Linked DNA regions of Homo sapiens: region 1 is linked to region 2. The links are contacts of gene promoters, found by promoter capture Hi-C in human tissues and cell types (Jung and others, 2019). All regions are on one chromosome and are shown on one strand. Each heading gives the region's core, a stretch centred on a gene start or on the middle of the fragment in contact. The rest is flanking DNA. Distances are from core to core; before and after follow the strand shown. Region 1 overlaps MRPL58 (mitochondrial ribosomal protein L58). Region 2 holds the start of NAT9 (N-acetyltransferase 9).

Evidence for each region. The method cuts DNA at HindIII sites, captures the fragments that hold promoters and counts their contacts. A contact is called where the count stands out against the background at its distance.
Region 1: a fragment that was not itself captured here is called in contact with the fragment with the promoter of NAT9 in region 2 in 1 of the 25 tissues and cell types used here (hippocampus).

Annotation. Positions count from the first base shown.
Region 1 is chr17:75,020,446-75,025,984 of GRCh38, reverse strand. It overlaps MRPL58 (mitochondrial ribosomal protein L58), which reads right to left. Exons shown (of 6, transcript NM_001545.3): 5 at 5,328-5,497; 6 at 4,724-5,064. The coding sequence ends at 4,980. Among named protein-coding and RNA genes, the nearest start is that of MRPL58, 11 kb to the right of the region's middle. RefSeq lists a silencer at 637-794 and an enhancer at 4,958-5,539. The HindIII fragment of the contact is 7,781 bases long and covers 1-5,539 here.
Region 2 is chr17:74,774,225-74,779,765 of GRCh38, reverse strand. NAT9 (N-acetyltransferase 9) reads left to right here and starts at 3,421. Exons shown (of 7, transcript NM_015654.5): 1 at 3,421-3,499; 2 at 4,059-4,144. The coding sequence starts at 4,068. It overlaps SLC38A12 (solute carrier family 38 member 12), which reads right to left and starts at 3,267. Exons shown (of 10, transcript NM_017728.4): 1 at 3,189-3,267; 2 at 2,391-2,502. The coding sequence starts at 2,435. RefSeq lists an enhancer at 3,620-3,739. The HindIII fragment of the contact is 11,963 bases long and covers 1-5,541 here.

The sequences.
Region 1 (5,539 bases), core at 1,228-3,727, 250 kb before region 2:
TATTAGTTTTTGTATTTTTTAGTAGAGACGAGGTTTCACCATATTAGCCAGGATGGTCTCAATCTCCTGACCTCATGATCTGCCTGCCTTGGCCTCCCAGAGTGCTGGGATTACAGTCGTGAGCTACCACACCTGGCACACCTTTTAAATTTAGACTAGACCTTCCAAGTAATAGACCGACTGTTCCTGAGGATAAGGGTCTCCTAACTCCCATGGGGACCTTCTTTGGTGGCTCCCCAGGAAGTGTGTCCGGAATTGGTTCCTTCTGGTGGGTTCTTGGTCTTGCTGACTTCAAGAATGAAGCCGCGGACCCTCATGGTAAGTGTTATAGCTCTTAAAGATGGTGTGTCCGGAGTTTGTTCCTTCAGATGTTCAGATGTGTCTGGAGTTTCTTCCTTCCGGTGGGTTTGTGGTCTCGCTTGACTTCAGGAGTGAAGCCACAGAACTTTGCAGTGTTACAGCTCTTAAAGGGGCACGTCTGGAGTTGTTGGTTCCTCCTGATGGGTTCGTGGCCTTGCTGACTTCAGGAATGAAGCCACAGACCCTCACGGTGAGTGTTACAGCTCATAAAGGTAGTGCAGACCCAGAGGAAGCAGCAGCAAAATTTATTGTGAAGAGCAAAAGAACAAAGCTTCCACAGCATGAAACAGCACCCCAGCGGATTGCCACTGCGGCTTGGGTGGCCAGCTTTTATTCCCTTACTTGGCCCCACCCACATCCTGCTGATTGGTCCATTTTACAGAGAGGTGATTGGTCCGTTTTTACACAGTGCTGATTGGTGCGTTTACAAACCTTTAGCTAGACAGAGTGCTGATTGATGTGTTTACAATCCTTAGGTAGACAGAAAAGTTACCCAAGTCCCCACCCGACCCAGAAGCCCAGTCGGCTTCACCTCTCCTAAGGAGATGGTAATTGTGCTGTAGAGGTCTATGGCAGCACTGCCTGCTGAAGTGGGGGACAATTGTTGCACGTTTGTAAGGGCATGGCTGTGCCTTGGTTTGTTGAGGGGCTCGAGGCAGGCCTCTCTTCCCGTTTCCTGAAAGAGGTTGTCCATCCTTGTTAAATTTAGAATGACACTGACTTGCCCAGTGTTTGCTTTTCTTACACTGGAGACATATACCGGGACTTTTCTGTTGACTGATGGTAGTAATGTTTGCCTTTTGATTTCCTTTTCTACATTCCTTTCTTGGGTGTCCAAATTGACCACAATTAAAGCAAGGGCCTGAGAAATGGGGTATATTCTTTCCTACTCTTAATCCAGCCATAGCCTGAGCTAAAAGAGTTGCCTTATGTAAGTTACCTCCAATGCCATCGCAATCCTTAATATATTTAGCTAAATGAGCCGTCCCTCTCAGGGGTCTAATAGCAGTTTGACACTGCACTAGCATTTTCGTATGCAGGAAGCTGTATTACAACATCCTGAGCCGTTTTATTAGTAATGGCTTTATACACAGCCTCTTGGAGCTGAGCAATAAAATCAATATATGGTTCTTTAGGTCCTTGACGGATAGAACTGACAGAAGGATGTTTTTCGCCTGTAACATTTATCCTTTCCCATGCCCATAAGCACACAAAGCGCAGCTGAACAATGGCAGCATCCTCCATTACTGCTTGATTTCTCTAATCAACCCCAGTTAGGGCCAACTCCCATTAACTGTTCAAAGGAAACAGGCACAGGTGGCTGTGCTTGTATGTTTTCCCCTGCCTGAGTTTGAGCTTCATCAGCCCACCAGGTTTTAAACTGCAAATACTGAGATAGGGTGAGAACAGATTTTGTCAAAGTATCCCAGCCACATGGTATTAATCTATTATCAAGAGCCATATTTTTTAATAGAGTTTGCACAAAAGGAGAGTTCGGTCCGTATTGACTAATGGCTTGCTTAAATTCCTTTAGTAACTTAAAAGGAAAAGTGGCCAATTAGCTGTATTCTGTCTTCTCTGCTGGATGATAGTAACAGGAAATTGCCATGCTTCAAGGTCTCCCTCGGCTCTAGCTTTATGAATAGAATTTTCTATAGCATCACCAATTGCTCCAGGTTTTAATATTGCAACTATAGGAGTAGTAAGTTTTTCAGCTAATTCATCTTCTCACCCATTAAGAGGAGAGAGAGGAGGTGGCCATTCACTTAATTTAGCAGGGGGCGCCGACGGGCTAGTAAAACATACTTTTTTTAGTTTTCCTTTCTTTAATCTCCTCCGGTAGCTGTTCCTCACACTCAGAATCTGAAGTTAGTTTTTTACACTCATCCTCCTCTTCCTCATCTCAATCTGCCTCATCATCTGTTTGAAATGGCTCAAGAGCTGCCTTTATTAGCGCCCACATGACCAAATAGAAACTGGAATATCTGCTCCCTCTTTATACGCCTTTTAAAAATCTCTGCCGATTCTCTCCCATTCATCCAACTCCATAGTCGCTTGTTCCGGAAGCCATGGGCAAAACTGCTTTACTGTACTAAAGAGTGATAACAAATTCTGAGTACTAACTTTCACTCCCCCTCTTCATAATAAATGCCAACAAATTCTGAGTACTTTCACTCCCCCTCTTCGTAATAAATGCCTTAAGAAATTTAAATAAGGCCGGGCGCGGTGGCTCACACCTGTAATCCCAGCACTTTGGGAGGCCGAGGCGGGCGGATCACGAGGTCAGGAGATCGAGACCGTCCTGGCTAACACGGTGAAACCTCGTCTCTACTAAAAAAAAAAAATACAAAAAATTAGCCGGGCGCGGTGGCGGGTGCCTGTAGTCCCAGCTACTCGGGAGGCTGAGGCAGGAGAATGGCCTGAACCCAGGAGGCAGAGCTTGCAGTGAGCCGAGATCGCGCCGCTGCACTCCAGCCTGGGCGACAGAGCAAGACTCCTCTCAAAAAAAAAAAAATAATAAAATAAATTTAAATAAGCAAAATGTCTTTCACTTTATCCCATTGTTACCCTGGTTCTTCCGAGCGCTCAGCTTTCCTGCCGAGCTTCTTTTAGACGCCTTTGGGTGTCCTTTGACGATGTGTTCTCCGCTTTCACACGCTCTAGCGTTCCTTCACCAGGGTCTTTGTCACCCCACGTTGGGCAGCCAGGAATGTTGAGGTGATCAGACCCAACACCAGGTCATGGGGGCAACAAAGTCCGGCGGAGTCAAAGGAATTAGAAAAAGACAGTTTGAGAGAGAAAGTAGCACCAGGAAGCCATCGCCAGTGTTGAGGCTGTGAAGACCCCCAGCTCTGGGAGCCCACGGTATTTATTGGTGCTCAAAGAAACAGGTGGTGAGGATGTGGGGGTTGAAAAGAAAGTGTATCAAGTGAAGGAGAAACATACGGCTGCTTGAGAGAATGGGAGTGCTAGAAGCAAGGAGCCAGCAAGTCTAGCAGACATGCAAGCCCTGCCTCAGCTTCTCTCCCAACACTCAGCTTTTCTCCCAACGCTCAGCTTTTCTCCCAACAGCTTTCTGTTACCCACATCTCTTAAAACCTTTGCCGGGTGCAGTGGCTCACGCCTGTGATACCAGCACTTTGGGAGGCCGAAGTGGGCGGATCACCTGAGGTCAGGAGTTCAAGAGCAGCCCAGCCAACATGGTGAAACCCCATCTCTACAAAAATACAAAAATTAGCTGTGCATGGTGGCATGCACCTGTAACCCCAGCTACTGGGGAAGCTGAGGCAGGAGAATCGCTTTAACCTGGGCGAAGGAGGTTGCAGTGAGCCAAGATCACGCTATTGCACTCCAGCCTGGATGGCAGAGTGAGACTCCATCTCAAAAATAAAAGAACCTAAACTCCTTAACTTGAATTCAAGGCTCTCCACATCAAGCCGGTCTCTCTCTGGGTTCACCTCCCGCTGCAATGGTGGATCACCCTGCACGAATCCACCATTCAGTGCCTTTGCCTTCTTTGTCACCCCCTCCACCTCAGCCTCTTTTGTCTCTTGTGTTCATTGTTCCCTTCAAATGGCATGTCCGCCTCCCGTCTACTGATGAAAGTCCCATGCCTTTTCCATAGCCCGGCTCAAATGCCCACTTACCTGTCTCAGCCCTCCTACCTGGTTGTGTGTGTAGTTTCTTTTTGTTTTGTTTTTGAGACGGAGTCTGGCTCTGTTGCCCAGGCTGGAGTGCAGTGGTGTGATTTTGGCTTACTGCAACGTCACCCTCCTGGGTTCAAGCAATTCTCCTGCCTCGGCCCGAGTAGCTGGGATTACAGGTGCCCACCACCTATTTTAGTAGAGATAGGGTTTCACCACGTTGGCCAGGCTGGTCACCTCAGCCTCCCAAAGTGCTGGGATTACAGGTGTGAGCCACCACGCCCGGTGGTTTTTTTTTTTTTTTGAGACACGGTCTTGCTCTGTCACTCAGGCTGCAGTGGTGCAATTATGGTTCACTGCAACCTTGAACTCCTGGGGGGCTCAAGTGATCCTCCTGCCTCAGCCTCCCAAGTTGCTGGGACTATGGACATGTATCACCACACCTGGCTAATTTTTGTAGTTCTTGTAGAGATGAGATCTTGCTATGTTGCTCAGGCTGGTTTTGACCTCCTGACCTCGTGTGATCCTCCTGCCTTGGCTTCCAAAGTGTTTGGATTACAGGCGTGAGCCACCACGCCTGGCCTGTGTGTTCTTTCACAGCAGACACCAGAACCCTTTCCTGTTCCCCAGTGCTGTGTCGATAACTGTGCGGCTGATTTAACTGAGAGAAAAGGTAGGAATTGTTTTCTGAAGCATTCTGAATGAGAAGGGAAGCCTAATGAGTTCTGATTTTTATTGTGACTAATACATGAGGTGCATTATTAAGGTTTGACAACATGGTGACTGCCTATAAAGACGTCTGCAACCAGTGCCTGCAGCCTTCATTCCAAATGAACATTCTTGTGATGGCTCCAATGTTATAGACAAGCATTAACAGCCAAAAAGAAAAACAGAAATCTCCTTATGGTGTGAAAGTCCTCTCAGCTGCAGCTGCCCGGACGCCCAGAAGAGCCCTCCCAGCTGCAGAGGGTGATTTCAGTCCATGTCGACCCTCCTGCTTGTCTTTACAGCAGAATGAATTCTCTTTTGTCTCAGCCTTTCCCGATTCATGTTTTCTATCCTGAAAACAAAAAGACTGCAATTAGCCCCAGATGCCCAATCAGTGCTTTTCAAAGTGGTGAGAGGAGTTGGGAGCTCAACGGGAAGCCGAGCAGTTACACCAGCAGGCACTAGCCCGCAGGCCTCGGTCCCAGGTCAGCATCCTCTCCTCTTCCTAGAGTTTCTCCCAAGGCCGGCCTTGGACTCTCCCCTGCCCCTTCCTTACCTGTGTAGACTCTTGTCCACACAAATCAGTTTATAGCATCTTAGGGCATTTCCTGGTACCTGATTCTATGAAGTTTAACATCTTCTTTTGTTGGCTCCTTCGGTGTCTGGCTGGCCTCAGTGATCATGTCTCGAATTTTCTGCAGGCAATCTGCCAGATTCCGGAACTGATAGCGGCTGCTCTCAGAGGTGAGGATCAACTCTCCTAACCTGTTGATCTTGTTTTTATGCTGCAGAGAACAAATGAAAAACTGGAGTCCTACAGAGTAAAG
Region 2 (5,541 bases), core at 2,172-4,671:
GTAAATGCGCGTGGGCTGAAGCACACGTATGAATGACCTGCCCCGTGTCTTGGTTTCCCAAGGCAGCCAGGGCAGAGCTCTGCCCACGTTGTCTTGAGCTGGGGCCTGCAGGGGAACTCAGAGCAGCCAGCATCAGCAGTGAGTTAGTTCCACAGCTTATCTGGGTTCAGTGACAACCAACTCTTCTGGTCTTACAGAGGACCAAGAATTGTTCCAGGACGGGGGAGTTAAGGAACCCTTAGGAAGAAGGTGTCTTCTCCCCTCAGAACACTGACCACTACACCTCCTGTTTGATGTCACATCATCCCCTCCCCATCCCACCCCATCTCCTCCCTACATCTCTCTTCACCAGTAGGATAAAACAACACAAGCACTTGTTTATGGCCAATGCCCAGAGCTGGCCCTCTGGGCAACAAAGACCCTGAACGAAATAAAACACAGAGGAGATGGAGAACAAAAACGGGCAGAGCGCACTGAAGCTTGCAGGCCTAACTGCCTCATTTCCTGTGGGCACATGCTGACATGTGAGAGGACCCCTTAAACAACCGGAGATACAAGAAATGGGGACATATCCAAGTGTTTTCCTTACAAAACTTAGTTACAGGGATGACTCATCTCCTTATCTCTAAATTTACAGATGTTGTAAGAAAAAGCAGGAGCCGTGGTGACTTTTACATTAATAGACAGCATAGAGATTTCATCACTGACAGCAGGAGGCTAGGAGCTGTTACATAATTCCACAAATGAGAGGGACACTATTTATTCCATTCCAGGGTTCATGAAAGACTTCACCTGAGAGGCTGGGTGCAGTGGCTCACGGCTGTAATCCCAGCACTTTGGGAGGCTGAGGCGGGTGGATCACCTGAGGTCAGGAGTTCAAGACCAGCATGACCAACATGGTGAAACCCTGTCTCTACTAAATACAAAAAATTAGCTGGGCAGGGTGGTGCATGCCTGTAGTCCCAGCTACTTGGGAGGGTGGGGCAGGAGAATTGCTTGAACCTGGGAGGCAGAGGTTGAACCTGGGAGGCAGAGGTTGCAGTGAGCCGAGATTGCACCATTGCACTCCAGCCTGGGCAACAAGAGTGGAACTCTGTCTCAAAAAAAAAAAAAAAAAAAAAAAAAAGACTTCCCCTGAGAAATTACACAGGTGATGGGTGAAGAAGGCTCCTTTATTGCCACACATGAATGGCACAGGCCCAATAGGAAGACTCTGGAATCAGGAAGGCTTTCTTCCAGCTGTGAAGGAAATGTCTTGGAGACACTTCCTTGTCCATCACACCACAATGCTAGTCTGTGAAGCTAGCAGAAACAGACCAGAGATCCCCAGGCTAGGAAGCTATGTACAAGGCAGGGCAGCTGTTGAAGGCAGGTCAAGTTCTAGAAAACTCTTGCTACTTAGGGCAGTGCTGCTTTTGCCTGGGAGGGTTGGTAGCAACCTGAGTCAACCATCTGATTATTCCAACCCTCTGGCTACTTATCCAGGCAAGAGGGCCCTGTGATGTAACAACTATGACCAATCATACGTTACATAGAGAAGATAAACTGCGTGTGTGTTGGGGGCAGCCAGAGGTAACACAGACCTAAGACAGTGAGAATCAATCATTCTAATTGTTCTAATTGCAGAGTCCACCAAACTGTAATTAGAAGTCTCTGTATGCTTTCGCTGCTTCTTACGCCATCCAAGACTATAAAAGTTGTGCAATTTAAAATTCAGTAAAGACCAAAGCGGTTTCCAACTGCTGAGATGAGCAAAACCCAGAGTCAACAGCTGTCAATCACTGTTCATCTGAAGGGCAGCACTGCAGGCAAGTGTGGTAGCCTGGAGATGAACATTATTTCTTTATTTTTGAGACAGAGTTTCGCTCTTTTTGCCCAGGCTGGAGTGCAACGGCTCGATCTCAGCTCACTGCAACGTCCGCCTCCCGGGTTCAAGCGATTCTCCTGCCTCAGCCTCCCGAGTAGCTGGGATTACAGTGCCACCATGCCCGGCTAATTTTGTATTTTTAGTAGAGACAGGGTTTTACCATGTTGGCCAGGCTGGTCTTGAACTCCTGACCTCAGGTGATCTGCCCGCTTCAGCCTCCCAAAGTGCTGGGATTACAGGCGTGAGCCACCGTGCCCAGCCCGGGATTAACATTATAAACAGCATGGCGATTTTGTTTGGCTTGACCACTCTGACAAACACCTTAAAAAGAGAATAAATCTGACTTACATTCTGAGCCACCACAGCAGCACTGTAGTCGCTGCCCCATGGAACTCCCCCATCCTGCTTCCACTATGGTCTGCTCAAGCAGCAGCACTCACTAGTCCCATCTCCAGCAAGCAATGTGCTTTTCTAGAAGCCAGGAACACTTAAGTGAGCAAAAGGTTCTATAAGTCACACTCACGTAGGAAGAGTAGAGTTCCCCGGTCTCTGTAATTTCACCCGCCATTTCCAAAAGTGAGGAAGGGCTGGCAGCAGAGGTTCCTTAGGTGCAAGGACGGCGGCTGCCGCAGCTCCTTAAAACAAAAGAGCAGGCTTCACCTATCTGATGGACTGAGACAGGGGTGGGAGGAGGCTTGCAGACTTCCCCTGCCACCTCTGGTTCTTTTATCACAGACACTTAGGGCCTCAGTATCTGTCACAAGACTCACCCCCGAGGGAGGGGTCACCCTGGATGACAGAAATCTGGACGGTTTCTTCTAACATTTCCCTTGCTGTGCAGGGCACTGCTCTGTGCCCAGCACGGATGTTTTCAATGCTGCTCGGGGTGCAAGTGATTTAAGGGGCCTCTAAAACCACTAAGTCTCACCCACCACAAGAGCCCCCTTTCCACGCTCTGGGGTGGTTATCCTCGTTTAGTTCCAGGAACCAGGAGCTCACTACCACACATGGGAGCCCAAGGAACTGTCTGCCGCCTCTGCCTAGGGCAGGGAGCTGGGGGCTTTCCTACATTGCCCTTCCAACTCCACTCTTGGCACTAAGGCCTCCTTTTTTTAATGGGGCCTCCACTCCCTGGCCCCACCTACTCTCTTAGGGTTCCCCACCCTCAAAGCTCCCTCTTTTCTCAAGAACCCCACTCCCAGCCTCTCCCTCTCTCTCCCTCCTGGAGGAGTCCCGAGTCTAGTGCCGCCCCGCCCCGCCCCAACCTATCCCGACCCGTCTCGTCCTCTCCCGCCCGTCCCGACCCGACCCGACCCAACACCTGCAGCACAGCCAGCTCCCAAGCCGCCGTCTCCCGCCGGTCCGCTGCTGCCGGCGCCAGCTGTCCAGCACCAGCTTCCGCAGCGCGCATGCGCCGGCCCCACAGCCCACCTTTTTCGCGCGCGCTGATTGGGCGCCTCGCGGGGGCGGGACCGGGATTGGGGCCTGGCGGCTGCCGTCAGCATGGCGGAAGTGGGCGGGGCGCGTTCTCACGCGCATGCGGAAGGGGCGGTAGCCGGCCGGGCCTGGGAACGTGGCTGGTTGGAGGAGGTAGATCACCCTTTCTGCGGGGGACGATTTCGTCGGTGGTAGGTGGGTGTGAGCTTGGCAGTACCCGGGTCCGCGTGGTTGGAGGGTCGAAGAGAGTGGTCTAGAACGCCACTCAAAGGGGAGGGCCTAAGACTAAGCCCGCCTTGCCCTGAAGTGGTCGGGGGCGGGGAGGGAGTGGCTAGAGCCCCGTGGGGTGGTCGCCGGGGTAAGAGGTTGGAAGTAGGTTTAAGGCAGGGCTGAAAGTTGATTCTGGGTTGGAATCCCTGGACTGGGGCAAGTAATGGGAGCTCTGGGGATACTTTGGTACTTGGTACTTGGTGCTTGGGTTTGAGGAATCGAAGTTCTGGGGAGTGGACGGAAGGAACCGGCAGAAACGGAGCCCAGGCTTGGCCTCTTGGAGTGGGAGTCAAGGATTGTTTAATTATCCTTAACCAGCCTGGTTCTCTTTCTTGCAAGAATTTTGGAGTCTGTATTCTTTGAAGTGTCTAGACGGAACTAATGACGGAAGTCAACTTAGCCCCAGCAGGAAAGCTGGAGCGCCTACCCAAAGTTGGAGGAAATTCAGGGTCCTGAAGTCTTTGCTCTCCCCATCTGCATGCAGGCTGCTACCATGAGGTTGAATCAGAACACCTTGCTGCTGGGGAAGAAGGTGGTCCTTGTACCCTACACCTCGGAGCATGTGCCCAGGTATCTTTCCCGCTTGACATGGGGTGCGTATCAGCACCCAGAGCTGTGTAAGGTACAGCCCCAGTCTCAGGGCTATTTCCCCTAAGAAGAAACATTGGTTGTGAGAAATAATTATATATGAGGGGGGAAAAAAGGCTGGGTGCCGTGGCTCACGCCTGTAATTCCAGGACTTTGGGAGGCTGTGGCAGGAGGATTGCTTGAGCCCAGCAGTTCGAGACCAGCTTGGGTAACGTAGCGAGACCTTGTCTCTACAAAAAAATACAAAAATTAGCCAGGCATGGTGGTGCACAGCTGCAGTCCCAGCTACTAGGGAGGCTGAGGTGGGAGGATTGCCTGAGCCCAGGAGATGAAGACTGCTGTGAGCTGTGATTGTACCACTGTACTCCAGCCTGGGTGACAGAGCAAGAACCTGTCTCAAAAAAAAACAAAAAAAACAAAAAAACAAAAACAAACAAAAACAAAAAAACGGCCGGGTGCGGTGGCTCACGCCTGTAATCCCAGCACTTTGGGAGGCTGAGGCGGGTGGATCATGAGGTCAGTAGTTCAAGACCAGCCTGGCCAACATGATAAAACGCCATCTCTACTAAAAACACAAAAAATTAGCTGGGCTTGTTGCCCGGCACCTGTAATTCCAGCTACTTGGGAGGCTGAGGCAGGAGAATCACTTGAACCAGGGAGGTGGAGGTTGTGGTGAGCCGAGATCACACCACTGTACTCCAGCCTGGGCAACAGAGTGAGACTTTGTCTCAAAAATAAAATAAAATAAAATAAAGGCTGGGCGCAGTGGCTCACGCCTGTAATCCCAGCACTTTGGGAGACCGAGGCAGGCGGATCACAAGCTCAGGAGAGCGAGACCATCCTGGCTAACATGGTGAAACCCCGTCTCTACTAAAAATACAAAAAAATTAGCCGGATGTGGTGGCGGGCGCCTGTAGTCCCAGCTACTCGGGAGGCTGAGGCAGGAGAATGTGTGAACCCGGGAGGCGGAGCTTACAGTGAGCCGAGATCGCGCCACTGCACTCCAGCCTGGGTGACAGATCGAGACTCCGTCTCAAAAAAAAAAAAAAAAAGAGACCAGCCTGATCAACGTGGAGAAACCCCGTCTCTAATAAAAATACAAAAAAAATAGCTGGGCATGGTGGCACATGCCTGTAATTCCAGCCTGGGCAACAAGAGTAAAACTCTGTCTCAAAAAAAAAAAAAAAAAAAATAGCAGAACCTGGGGACTGTGACTTCCTTGGGAGGAGCTGCCCATCCTCTTCCCTTTCATTCTCTCAGCTTTTTGGCCTTTCAGCAAGGAATTGCTTTATGTAAACTAAACGTGGAAGAAAAAGAAATTGTCTTCTCACCTAATTGTAAATTAGTGATGTTTCCCTGGTGCCAGTGAGTATGTTCAG